4 separate regions of the Homo sapiens genome follow, and regions 2, 3 and 4 are each linked to region 1. Evidence: promoter capture Hi-C in 16 types of primary human blood cells and fetal thymus (Javierre and others, 2016). All regions are on one chromosome and are shown on one strand. The core of a region is centred on a gene start or on the middle of the fragment in contact, and the rest is flanking DNA. Distances in the headings are between cores, read along the strand shown.

Region 1 (2,895 bases), core at 141-2,640:
ATTACTGCACATACTTGTTATTTGTTTGTGGTGAGAACACTTAAAATCTACTGTCAGTGATTTTCTTTTTTTTTTGAGATGGAGTCTCGCTGTGTCGCCCAGGCTTGGGGTGCGGTGGCACGATCTCGGCTCACTGCAACCTCCACTTGCTGGGTTCAAGAGATTCTCCTGCCTCAGCCTCCCGAGTAGCTGGGATTACAGGCGCCCGCCACCACGCATGGCTAATTTTTGTATTTTAGTAGAGACACGGTTTCACTATGTTGGCCAGGCTGGTCTCGAACTCCTGACCTCAGATGATCCACCTGCCTTGGCCTCCCAGAGTGCTAGGATTACAGGCGTGAACCACTGTGCCTGGCCTCTCTCAGTGATTTTCTAAATGCAATACATTGTTATTAGGGGACTATAGATTTAAGGACAGTTTGATTTCCGGCACTGGGAAAAAACTAAGATGTTGTGTCAGGGAACTTTAAAAAAAAATAAATACTAATAAGTAATAATAATAAATAAATAAATTATATTTTGAGATGAGGTCTTGCTATGCTGACCAGGCTGGTCTTGAACTCCTGGGCTCAGGGCACTTCTGAAGAACAAGGACTGGGTTTGGGGTCACCAGCTAGGCCTAAACTTCCTAGGGTCAGGTAAACAGGGAGGGCCTGAGAAGCTGGGAGGCTGGGTCTAGGGGCCCATGGTCTCACGGTGCCCCAGGCTGAGGGTGAGGTACAGGGCTGACCTTCTGCTGGCCAAGGCTGGCTGCCCTCTGTGCACCCTAGCCCCACAGGAACAACTCAGTTCTGCCCAGCCCTCCCCTTCCCCCCAGCCCACTCTCCCCCATCTCCTGGAGTCTGGTCCCAGGCTTGCCTCAGGTAGTCCTGCCCCTGCCACCCTGAGGATCTCATCTTCCTGGGCTGAGGGACCTGCTTTTCTAGGCTTAGGAGAGGTTCTCTCTGTTCCCTAAAGTTTTCTTCTCTACGTGGGCTTTTTCACACAAACCCTTTTCCCCAGCAGCCATGACAGTGGGATGGCCGGCCCCTCTCCTCTCCCCAACTCCAACTGTCAGTGGAGAGGAGAAAGAGTTCCTGCCCGGCCTACCACCCAGTCTGACCACCAGTGGCCTATCCTTCCCCAAACAGTCTGAGAACGAGGCCCAGGTCCTGTCCTTAGGGAGCATCCAGTCTGATGGAAGAGTCACTCTCTGTACCCTCAAGGGGCATCCAGTCTGATGGAAGAGTCACTCTCTGTACCCTCAAGGGGCACCCAGTCTGATGCGGGACACAGCTCCTCCCCTGGGGGGAGGCTCTAGCCTGCAGGAGGTACAGGAGTGGGGCAAGGCCCCATGAGTGCCTACCTGGGGAGTACAGCATGCTGGTGGCTAGCTCGGTGCTTGACAGTTGAAGGTTCTGGTGGGAGGGGGAGAAGAGACCCTCCCCCCAGAACTCTCTCATTGCAGTGGGATTCCTAGGTCAGCAGCCGGTTTAACAGCTGCCTTCCCTTTTCTCCTTCTCAGTAACCCAGCCCCTTACCCAGCTGAGGGCTACCCGCTTTAGGGACAGATGACCCAGCACCCCTGCCTTGCACAGCCTCCACCAGCCTGGCTGTCCTCACTGTATCACGGTCATCCCATCAGGGTAGGTCCCAGTCCCTTTTTTTCAGCCCAAGGTTTCCAGGAAGGGGTTGTCCCTGACACACCAACCTGACCTTTACATCCAGAAAGCCTTCTCATTCCCAAAAGCCCCTTTCTCACTGACATGGCATTTTTCCTGTGTTGCTGTCTTCACATGGCACCCTCCTCTGTGTCTCTTCTTCTTATAAGGACACCAGTCATATGGGGCTAGGGTCCCATGCATTTCAGTATGACCTCATCTTAATTGAACGAATTACATCTGCAACCACCCTGTTTCCAAATGAGGTCACATTCTGAAGTACTGGGGGCCAGGACTTCAACATGCCTTTTTGGGGGACACGATTCCACCTGCAACACTCTCCTTGCCTAGCCCCAGTCTGGCAAGGTTAGGCCACTGGTCTGACCACATGTCCTGCCTCTGCACTGGAAAGTGGGAATGCTTTGAGCTAAGAACTCTGCTCCAGAGTGCAGTCTTCTCTGGAGTGTATGATGGCTGAGGACAGGGACTGTCAAGGTCATCCCAGTGCCCCTCAGCCCTGCCTGGTGCTAATCAGGCACAGAACAGGTGTGAGAGCACCCAATGGGATCAGAGAACCTTGTTCCAAGCTCTGAAACAGGAGCTGACCTTGGGCGAGCCCTCCCCCTTTCTCCTTTCTGGGACTCAATCTCCTCATCTACGAGAATATTAATTATGGTTTGTTATTATGTGCCAAACACTGGGCTAAGAACTTCCTACTTATTTAATCCTTAAAACAGCCAGAGGCCATGACATTGCTATTCCCATTTTATAGATGAGGAAAGTGAGGTCTAGAGGTATGATGCAACTTGCCCAGGGTCACACAGCTGTTAAGCGGTCGAGCCAGGATTTAAACTAATAACTTCAGATTTTTTTTTTTTTTTTTTTTTTTGAGATGGAGTCTCGCTCTTTTGCCCAGGCTGGAGTGAAGTGGTGCAATCTCAGCTCACTGCAACCTCTGCCCCCCGGGTTCAAGCGATTCTCCTGCCTCAGCCTCTCAAGTAGCTGGGATTACAGGTGCCCACCACCATGCCCAGCTAATTTTTGTATTTTTAGTAGAGACGGGGTTTCGCCATGTTGGGCAGGCTGGTCTCGAACTCCTGACCTCAGGTGATCACTCGCTTCGGCCTCCCAAAGCGCTAGGATTATAGGCATAAGCCACCGTGCCCGGCCATAACTTTAGCTCTTATCCGTATCTTCTGCTGCCCCCAGCTGTGAAAGGAGGAAGTGGTCTTTGGGGATCCTGTGGTCTCCCCTG
Region 2 (2,895 bases), core at 267-2,766, 430 kb after region 1:
GGATTATGTTGTTGAAACAGAGGCTCCCTGAACCTGCTAGAAGTGAGGCTTCCCTCACTCCACCCCAAACACCCCACCAGTAAACTTGGACGCTTCAGCAGGGAGAAACTGGGAGTGGGAGAGGAGAGAGAGGCTCCAAGCAGGCCCATAATATCAGAGCTCTAAGGAAGTGTAGAGACCTACCAGACAGTAGACAGAGAGGGAAACTGAGGCTGTGGGGATAAAGGAAAGAAAAGGAGGCACCCAGAGCTCTGGGTTCTGGTCCTGGCTCAGCACTCTATGGCCCTGGGCTGGTCCCTTTCCCTCTGTGTGCTCCGGGCCTCCCCCCAGGCTTGCTGTCCCAGGGTTCTAACTGAAGCACCTTGCCCGAGGAGCTCAGGCCCAATCAGTCAGCCGCAGGTGGACTCCTGATTTCACCTCCAGGCCCCTGCCTTAGCCAGGTCCTGGGGACTTATGGCAGATGGGCTGGGGCAGGGGGAGGGGTGGGGAGAGGAGGAGGGGGAAGAGGTAAATGTCACGCCAGGGAGGGGCAGCAGGGAAGGGAAACTGAGTGTGTCCCTGGCTTGCCCCAGCCTGTCCCTTACATCCGGGGAAGGGTGAGAGTGACTGTCAGCTGGGGAAGGGGGGCAAGAAGGGTAAGCTGGGGAAGGGCAGGGAACCCCCGTCTGAACTTGTTGGGGCAGCCGGATGTAGCAGTTTCCGGCTGATGAAAGGGCCCTGATTGATGTGATAGTGACTGACTCTAACCCCCAAATCCGAGTTCTTCCCATCCTCCCCAACTTGGGCACTCCCAAAGGCCCACTTTGGAGACAGGCAAAAGCCAGAGAGAAGGGAGAAGAGTGGGGCTTCTCCTGCCACTGGGGACAACACCCCAAGGACAGGGTGGAGGGAAGCTTGTCTAATCTTTCCCACTCCAGCCCAGCAGGGACCCGGGCCAATTCGAAGTGTGGAGGGAGGGGGATTGAGCCAGGATCAGAGGGCAGGGCCAGGGAAGAGGTGCAAAGGCCTTGCTCCCTCCTCTCCCCGTGTTGGACATTCAAATATACATGTACAGCCCCAAGGATGGCAGGGAGGAGAGCAGGGAGTGTCACTGAGCATTCATTTTACAACCTGTCTAGCCATTTGCCTTTTGCCAGGCCCATATAATAATAGCAAACATTGGTTGAATGTAGCAGGCATCCTTCTAAGTAAGAAGTTTAGTGCATGACCTTGCTGACTCCTCACCACAGCCCTACGAGGTAGGTGCCATCATCTCCCCTATTTTATGGATGAGGATATAGCAGCCCAGAGTGGTTAAGGAACTTAACCTTAGGGAGAGTGGAAATGTGAACCCAGACTACACTGCCTGGAGGGGGTTATCATGGGATAGGGGGACAGAGCCAACTTGTAACCAACCTGTAAACAAATAATGACCTTACAAGCAGGAAGAGTTTCAAAAAGAGATGTATGAGGTACAATGAGTCCCTGGAGGAGGGGCACAGTGGACAGGTGTTGAAGGGGAAAAGGAGAACCAGGAGAGTCTTCTAGGACAATAAACATTTAAATTGGATTTGGGAGGTTATGGGGTGTTTCCTAGTTTAGGTTGTTTTATTTTCTTTTTCACTTTTTTTATTATGGTAAAATATGTATAACATAAATAGTCACCATTTTAACTATTTTAAGTGTACAATTTAGTGGCAGTTTTTAATTTTGATGAAGTCCAATTTATCTATATTTTTCCTTTGTTGCCTGTGTTTTTGGTGTCATACTAAAGAAACCATTGCCAAATCCAAGGCCTTGAAGATTTTCCCCTGTTTGGTTTCATTTGTAGAGATGAGGTCCCACTATACTGCCCAGGCTAGTCTCAAACTCTGGGCTCAAGCAGTCCTCCCACCTCAGCCTCCCAAAATGCTGGGGTGACAGGCATGAACCACCACACCTGGCTCACTTTTTTTTTAAGAGTTTTACAGTTTTAGCTCTTAAATTTTGGTATTTTATCCATATCATCTGCAAACAGAGATCATTTTATTTCTTTCTTTCCAATCTGGGTGCCTTTTATTTCTTGCCTAATTGCTCTGGCTAGAACTTCCATTACTGTGTTGAATAGAAGTGACAAAAGCAGCCATTCTTATCTTGTCCTGATTGTAGGGGGAAAGCTTTCAATCTTTTGCCATTGAATATGATGTTAGCTGTGGGTTTTTCATATACAACTTTTTCATGTTAAGGAAGTTCTATTCCTAGTTTATTAAGTGTTTTTAATCAAGAAATTTTTGTATTTTCTCAAATGCTTTTTCTGCATCAACTGAAACAATTGTGTATGGCTCTTTTTTCCTTCATTCTATTAATGTAGTACATTATATTGACTGATTTTTGTATGTTAAACCATCCTTACATTATGGGGATAAATCCCACTTGGTCATGGTGTGTAATCCTTTTAATATGCTGCTAAATTTGGTTTGCCAGTTTTTTGTTGAGGATGTTTGCATCTCTATGCTTAAGGTATGTTGGCCTATAGTTTTCTTGTAGTGTCTTTGGCTTGGTATCAGGGTAACGTTGGCATCACAGAATGAGTTGGAAAGGTTCTCTCCTCTTCAATGTTTTGGAAGAGTTTGAGAAGGATTGGTGTCAATTTTTCTTTACATGTTAGGTAGAATTCACCAGTGAAGATATCTAGTCCTGGACTCTTATTTGTTGGGAGGTTTTTGATTGCTGATTCAATCTCTTCACTTGTTATATCTCTATTCAAGTTTTCTATTTCCTTTTAAGTTGGTTTTGATAGTTTGTGTTTCCAGGAATTTGTCCATTTCATCTAAGTCATCTAATTGGTTGGTGTGTAATTGTTCATAGTATTATCTTATAATCCTTTCTATGTCTATAAGATCAGTAGTAATGTCTCCACTTTCATGTCTGATTTTA
Region 3 (2,895 bases), core at 109-2,608, 380 kb after region 1:
ATGCCCACCTGCATGGTGATGTTGGACTCCTCAGTGGGCACACACTCCAGGCCCTCGTCATTGCAGCAGCCCCCGCATCGCATCAGGGGCACACAGGATGGCTTGAAGATGTACTCGATCTCATCAGGGTACTCCTGGAAGATGTCCACCAGGGTCTCGATTGGATGGCAGTAGCTGCGCTGATAGACATCCATGAACTTCACCACTGCATGAGAGGCGATGACACATGAGCCCGGTGGGCGACACAAAAGATGGCTAGCCCCTCTCTCCACCCAGCTCTGTAATGCCACTCTTTGGAGCTTCCGAATCAGGCAAGTCCTTCCAAAATCTAACGTAAGTCCCTCCTACTGTGTTTGAAGCACTTCCCTAAGCTTTCCACCATCAACACTGGTGAAGGCCTGTTTTCATTCCAGAGATCACACGATGTACTCAAGTTCCAAGGGACATGGCCTGCCACATCTGATCCCGCCACCTCACTGTGACAGCTGAACTGAATCCTGGGCCAACCTCGATGCCAGAGGACAGTCTGAGTATGGGTATACCCCATGGGGATGCTCTAAGCTTTCCCTAAAAGGAGGAAGAGCCAGCTTTGCCAAGCTAGTCTCCAGTTTCCTACGTCCTCCCCACAACCACTACCATAACGTCAACCATACCAACAGCTGTTTATTGAGCACTTACTACATCCTGAGTACTGTGTACAGTAGTCCACAGCTATCATTTCACACAAGTTTCTCCACATGGTACTATTAGACACTATTGAGATTCCATTTTACAGATGGGGAACAGGAGGCTCAAAGAGGCTAAGTAAGTTGCCCCAAGGCCGCACAGCTAGTAAGTAAAGGAGTCAGAATTAGCTGACATCAAAGTGTTCCCAAGCCTATATTAGGCAAAAACAGAGGAGGCACCTTTCAGGAGGAGGCACCTTTCCCCCTGCCAGTCCTCTTCCCCAGACATGAGCTGAGAAGGTGGTGGGCATCAGCACAGGGGCTGGGCCCTCCTGGAACCCACAGGTGGCAGTGGGCGGACACGCTGTGCCAGCCCTGCCAGCCACTGATAACCCCGCCCAAGAGGGCAAACTGCTTGCATCATGGAAAAAACAGTGCTGCCACTGTAGCCACGAAACATTTCTAGAAGCTGATCTGAAGGGAGACCAGGGTAGAGACAGTTTCCCAGGCTGGCCACGAAGCCTGGGGTGCACTGGAGCATGAAGGGGTAATTCTGGGCCACAGAGGCGGGGCCCTTGAGAATAAATAAATGCAGGACTCTGGCATGACTACTCCAAATTGTGGCCCAGCCTGCCACGCCTATCGCACCCCACCACCACTACCACATAGCAATCCTGTCCCTGAAATAGGTTCCCTACCCAGAGGGAAGAAATAACACCTGGCCAGTGAGGAGGCCCAGGCTCTGGCCATGAGTTGGTATGACCTTGGGCCAGTCCCTCCCCTCTCTAGGCCTCCAACTCTGCTCAACTGTGTAAGTGGGTTGGGCTGATCTCTAAAGATGCTGAAACAGGCTGAAAAAGGTGGTGTTTTGGCTTCCATTTCCAGCCCTAGGAACAAGTGCTCTTTTTTCAGCCTGGGTAATATGAAGTTTAGAACTTCACCAAAGCATCTTAAGTGTATGCTTCGTGGACTTCCACCCCAGCTCCCAACCCCCACCCCCCAGAGACCACAGCTGAGCCTCCCCCTCACTCCTCCCTCCAAGGTCTGCTTTCCAGAAGAATAAAGGACAATGAGGGGGGCTATGTACACAATAGGTTGATTGGGAAGAAGGTGGGGAGAAGGCCACAGGTGTGAAAACAGAAAGAACAGTGGGGAAACAGGCCAGTCCACTGCTTCCTGTGAGGTCTCTATTTCTTTTATCCAGACCACCAATGGGCACAGAATCCTTCTCTACCCACGAAGGGTTACGGCAAAGCATCATCAAAAAGAGTGAACGAGACTAGAAGTCTGAAAAGGTCATTTTTTAAAGCCAAGTCGATAGGGGAGAAGATGACTAATCAAGAAGTTTTGAACTGCCCCTTCATCACAATTGGGACAGAGGAGGGCCAGGCTTGTGGCCCAGGAGGGGATAGCAGGAAGGTCTGGCCTGGGCAAGGGGTTGGTAACTGAGGGTAAAAAGACCTGGGGTAGGAATTCCCCCAAAAAGCTTCCCCTTGGAATGAATCCCCAAGTCCCATGGGAGGTGGAGGCGGGGAACCTCACCCGCATCCTTCATCAGGCAGCCGCCCCTCCAAGGAGGGCTGGCCTCCACTGCCTGGGGGAGCACACACGTACACTCCAACAACCAGGCTTTCGTGGTTTTCCTTATTTATCGCAGACAACCTTTTCTCCAGCAAACAAAGACCTTTGTCCTGCCTCTCCCAGACCAGAGACCACTGGGAAGCTGGAAGGGGTAAGTGGCGCACTGGAAGCAGGGGGCCGGTCAGTGGCTGAGAAGCCAGGTCCTAGGCCAAGGAAAGGGCTCCTGGGGTGGGGAAGGAGGAGGCAGAACAGGCTGGGCATCACCACTGCTGGCCACTACCCAGCCACGCCAGATTTAGGTCAGGGAAACTCGCGGGAAGGAAGACCCCAGGGCCTTCCCTCCCCAGAGGTGGAGAGCACAGGCCACAGTCAGTGGTGGGGAGAGCCAGGGTGTCCCCAGAGAAATGGGAGGATCCAAACCACAACGGAACAAAAGGCAGGCGGACTCGGGGTTGGGCAGGGGGGCGGGGCGCCTGGGAGCTACAGCCAGCCCTCTGCTGGCCTGGGAGGGAAGTTCACAGCACCCGAACATAGTCAAATGGGGTTTTCTCCACCCCCAAAGGAATGCAAACCAGGGAAGGGAGGAGAGATCCCATTAGGCTGAGCCCTCTGTGCCTCCAGCTCACACAGGAAGGGTCACAGTTCCCAC
Region 4 (2,895 bases), core at 255-2,754, 320 kb after region 1:
CACCCTCCCTTTTGGTTCCAAGGCCAGGTGTTTGAGCAGGCCGTCATTTCACACATCCCAAGTCTGGGCACATGCACCGCCCAAAGCCCCTTGCCTCCCTGAAGGGGAGGCTGAAGGCCAGCCGCTGACACCAGTGGACCCACGGCGGGATCATTGCATAACAGCAGCCTGGCCACAGGATGATTCAGCACTGAGGCCTGCACAGCACTCTGACTTCTGTGGAAGACTCAGGACAGGGCTCCTCAGAATCAACAGACACGAGACCCAAGGATTCCACCTCACCTGGGGACGCGATGTTGCAGCCCTGGCATATTTGGGCCTCTTCTGGCTGCCCTGGGCCTGGCCTCTCTGTGTCTGGACCTGAGTGCAGGTACCTGGCCTGGGTTCCAGCCTGGGCAGGGCCAAGAGAGTCACCCTGCCACCAAAAGCCCACTGTCAGGACTTAGACTGCCCTCAAGCAGGGTTGTGGCCCAGCAGGAAAGTGACCTGGGGCCAGGGAAGGGACCCCAGGGGCAGCCTGGGGCTGGGGGGGGTCAACTTGGCAGTTCTTTTTCAGACCACTAGATGTCACTTCCATTTCAAAGGAACCCACTGGTTGGAATTTTCCCCAGTCAGGTCCCCACAGCCTTCAAGTCTTAAAGACACACAGACCACAAAAGAAAACTTCATTTTCCCCGGAGGACCAAGACACTGGAAACCTGGCCAGGAGCTGCCCCCAACCCTCAGCTGAAGCTTCCAGGGGCTCCATAACATCCCATCCCAACCCTGGAAAGAGCCAGAGGTGATGGAACTCCATCTCCCCATCCCCCACCTGTCCTACAGGTTAGTATGGGGATGGTATTTTCTGAAATGAACAAAAAAATGAAAGACGTGATGAAATGAATGTGAGTGCATTTGAGGGGGACGATGTTTGAAACAGGGGACATATATGCCAAAGATCCTCTTCAGGGCCAGGAGATTCCAGGTTCATCAAGGTCATGTTGTCCATCCCCAGGCTTCAGACTATCCTCAAAAAGTTCGGGTAAGGCAGCGCTGAAGGGAAGTTCCAGGGACCTTGCTTTCTCCACTCCAGTCCCCAATATTCAGTCAACATCTCTTGGCTGGCTGGGGCTGATTATTATAAAGTACAACCTTTGTGAGGTAAGTATAAAGATAACCCCATTTGACAAATGAAGACACAGAGGTATGGAGAGGGTTAAGTGAGAAAGTTCTCCCCAAGCCTCTTGCTGCTGTCCCATCTCAGCTCCCCACAGAAATGCGGCATGGATTCAGCTGGTTGGTTTATCTACAGCTCAGGTTGCTGCTTAAAGACTCATTCTCTTTAGTTCATTTGTACTGGCTTTTACCCAGTGGTTTTCAAACTTGGCTGCCCATTAGAATCACCTGGGGAACTTTCAAAAATTCTGATGCATGGCTGGGCACAGTGGCTCACACCTGTAATCTCAGCACTTTGGGAGGCCAAGACGGGAAGATGGCTTGAGCTCAGGAGTTTAAAACCAGCCTAGGCAATAGAGTGAGACCTTGTCTCTATTAAAAATTTAAAAATTAGCCGGGTATAGTGGCATGCACCTATAGTCCTTGGTGCTACTTGGGAGGCTAAGGTGGGAGAATTGAACCCAAGAGGTCGAGCCTGTAGTGAGCCGTGATCGTGCCACTGCACTCCAGCCTGGGGGACAGACTGAGACCTTGTCTAAAAAAACATCTGATGCCCTGGTCACCCCATATAAATTAATTCAGAATGCAGGAGGGTTGGAGTAAGTCAGGCATCAGTATGCTCTTGTAAATGTCCAGGTAATTCCAATGAGTGGCCAAGTCTGTGGACCATTATTTAACCACTCCCCCAACCTACCCTCAGCCAACACTGAGGGTTTACCTACAGGCCTGGCAGGGTGAGATTGGAAAGGCTGTGTTGCTATTAATGATTATTTAATCACATTTAATAATAGGATACCCAGAAACAAATACCTCACATACTGTAAGGCAGGAGGGCATGCATTGTTACTTTCCCGCAGAGGGAAGACTGACGTTCAAAGAAGTGAAGCAACTCACCCAGCGAATAAGTGAGTAGAACAAGGGCTAACACCCAAGTCTTCTTAGTTCTCAGACAAATGCTCCTGCCTCTTCATTATGCCTCCGAGATAAGGTGAGCTGCTTCCAGAGCAGTTAGCATCATACATAGAAAACTGTTCATTGTCAGTATCTGACCTCTAGCCCCAACCACTTATCAACAGCCAGTCATAACCACAGCTGACCCTTTATCTTGACTACAAGCTTGCTTTACCCTGGCTACCACTTGACCCCTAACCCTGGCCACTGCTGGCCCCTAATTGAGACCACAAGCTATCCCTAATGCCAGCCATGTTCAGCACTGGCCAGAATATGGAGGGCTCAGGCTACCCAGTCACCAAACCAGGGAATACCTCTGTGTCGTGTCATAATTACTAATGATAATAAGCACGTGGGGCCTGTGTGCCAGACAGGGTTTCAATATGTCTCTACGAACTATCAGGTCAGATCTAAAGGCTTCCCCAAAGTTTCTCTTTCTTGTAAGGCTCGCCCTTTCCTGCTCCGATCTCTCTCTTTCACACACACACACACACACACACCTCCTTGCTCCTGCAGTTCCCCAGGCCTGGAATGCCCTTCCTCCTCCCCACTCTCCAGGATCCCCTCAAGGCCTTCCTCCCAAGGAAGCCTACAGGGCCCCCAGGGTCCCACATAGCCCAGGCTTACGGACCCCTTCAGTAGGTGTCACCAGGCCCAAGAGAGCAAAGTCACTCAGCTTAGCATCTTCTCTCCTTTCTCACAAGGTCAGGAAGGTCAGGGCCGCCCAGCAGGGGTGACAGTCAGATGTCAGGGGACACTCACCCGCACAGGCACTCACATACGCACACA

The links. Contacts are between HindIII fragments. The CHiCAGO score rates a contact against its expected background, and 5 or more counts as called.
Region 2: a fragment that was not itself captured here is called in contact with the fragment with the promoter of CAPN11 in region 1 in 11 of 17 cell types (total CD4 T cells, naive CD8 T cells, activated CD4 T cells and 8 more); the score reaches 11.2 in total CD4 T cells.
Region 3: a fragment that was not itself captured here is called in contact with the fragment with the promoter of CAPN11 in region 1 in 11 of 17 cell types (naive CD4 T cells, naive B cells, naive CD8 T cells and 8 more); the score reaches 10.6 in naive CD4 T cells.
Region 4: a contact is called between a fragment that was not itself captured here and the fragment with the promoter of CAPN11 in region 1, in 1 of 17 cell types (monocytes). The highest score is 5.2, in monocytes.

Annotation. Positions count from the first base shown.
Region 1 is chr6:44,157,315-44,160,209 of GRCh38, reverse strand. It overlaps CAPN11 (calpain 11), which reads right to left and starts at 1,390. Exons shown (of 23, transcript NM_007058.4): 1 at 1,346-1,390. The coding sequence starts at 1,361. It overlaps LOC107986599 (a long non-coding RNA gene), which reads left to right and starts at 1,607. Exons shown (of 3, transcript XR_002956350.2): 1 at 1,607-1,625. RefSeq lists an enhancer at 44-213. The HindIII fragment of the contact is 9,288 bases long and covers 1-2,895 here.
Region 2 is chr6:43,731,910-43,734,804 of GRCh38, reverse strand. No RefSeq gene overlaps it. Among named protein-coding and RNA genes, the nearest start is that of VEGFA, 37 kb to the left of the region's middle. RefSeq lists an enhancer at 606-795 and a silencer at 899-1,193. The HindIII fragment of the contact is 1,242 bases long and covers 896-2,137 here.
Region 3 is chr6:43,774,779-43,777,673 of GRCh38, reverse strand. It overlaps VEGFA (vascular endothelial growth factor A), which reads right to left. Exons shown (of 8, transcript NM_003376.6): 3 at 9-205. Among named protein-coding and RNA genes, the nearest start is that of VEGFA, 6.0 kb to the right of the region's middle. RefSeq lists an enhancer at 2,628-2,895. The HindIII fragment of the contact is 1,590 bases long and covers 564-2,153 here.
Region 4 is chr6:43,836,129-43,839,023 of GRCh38, reverse strand. The region is part of intron 1 of LOC105375070 (a long non-coding RNA gene); the gene reads right to left. It overlaps LOC105375069 (a long non-coding RNA gene), which reads left to right and starts at 225. Exons shown (of 3, transcript XR_001744130.1): 1 at 225-370; 2 at 612-1,140; 3 at 2,013-2,092. The HindIII fragment of the contact is 1,539 bases long and covers 735-2,273 here.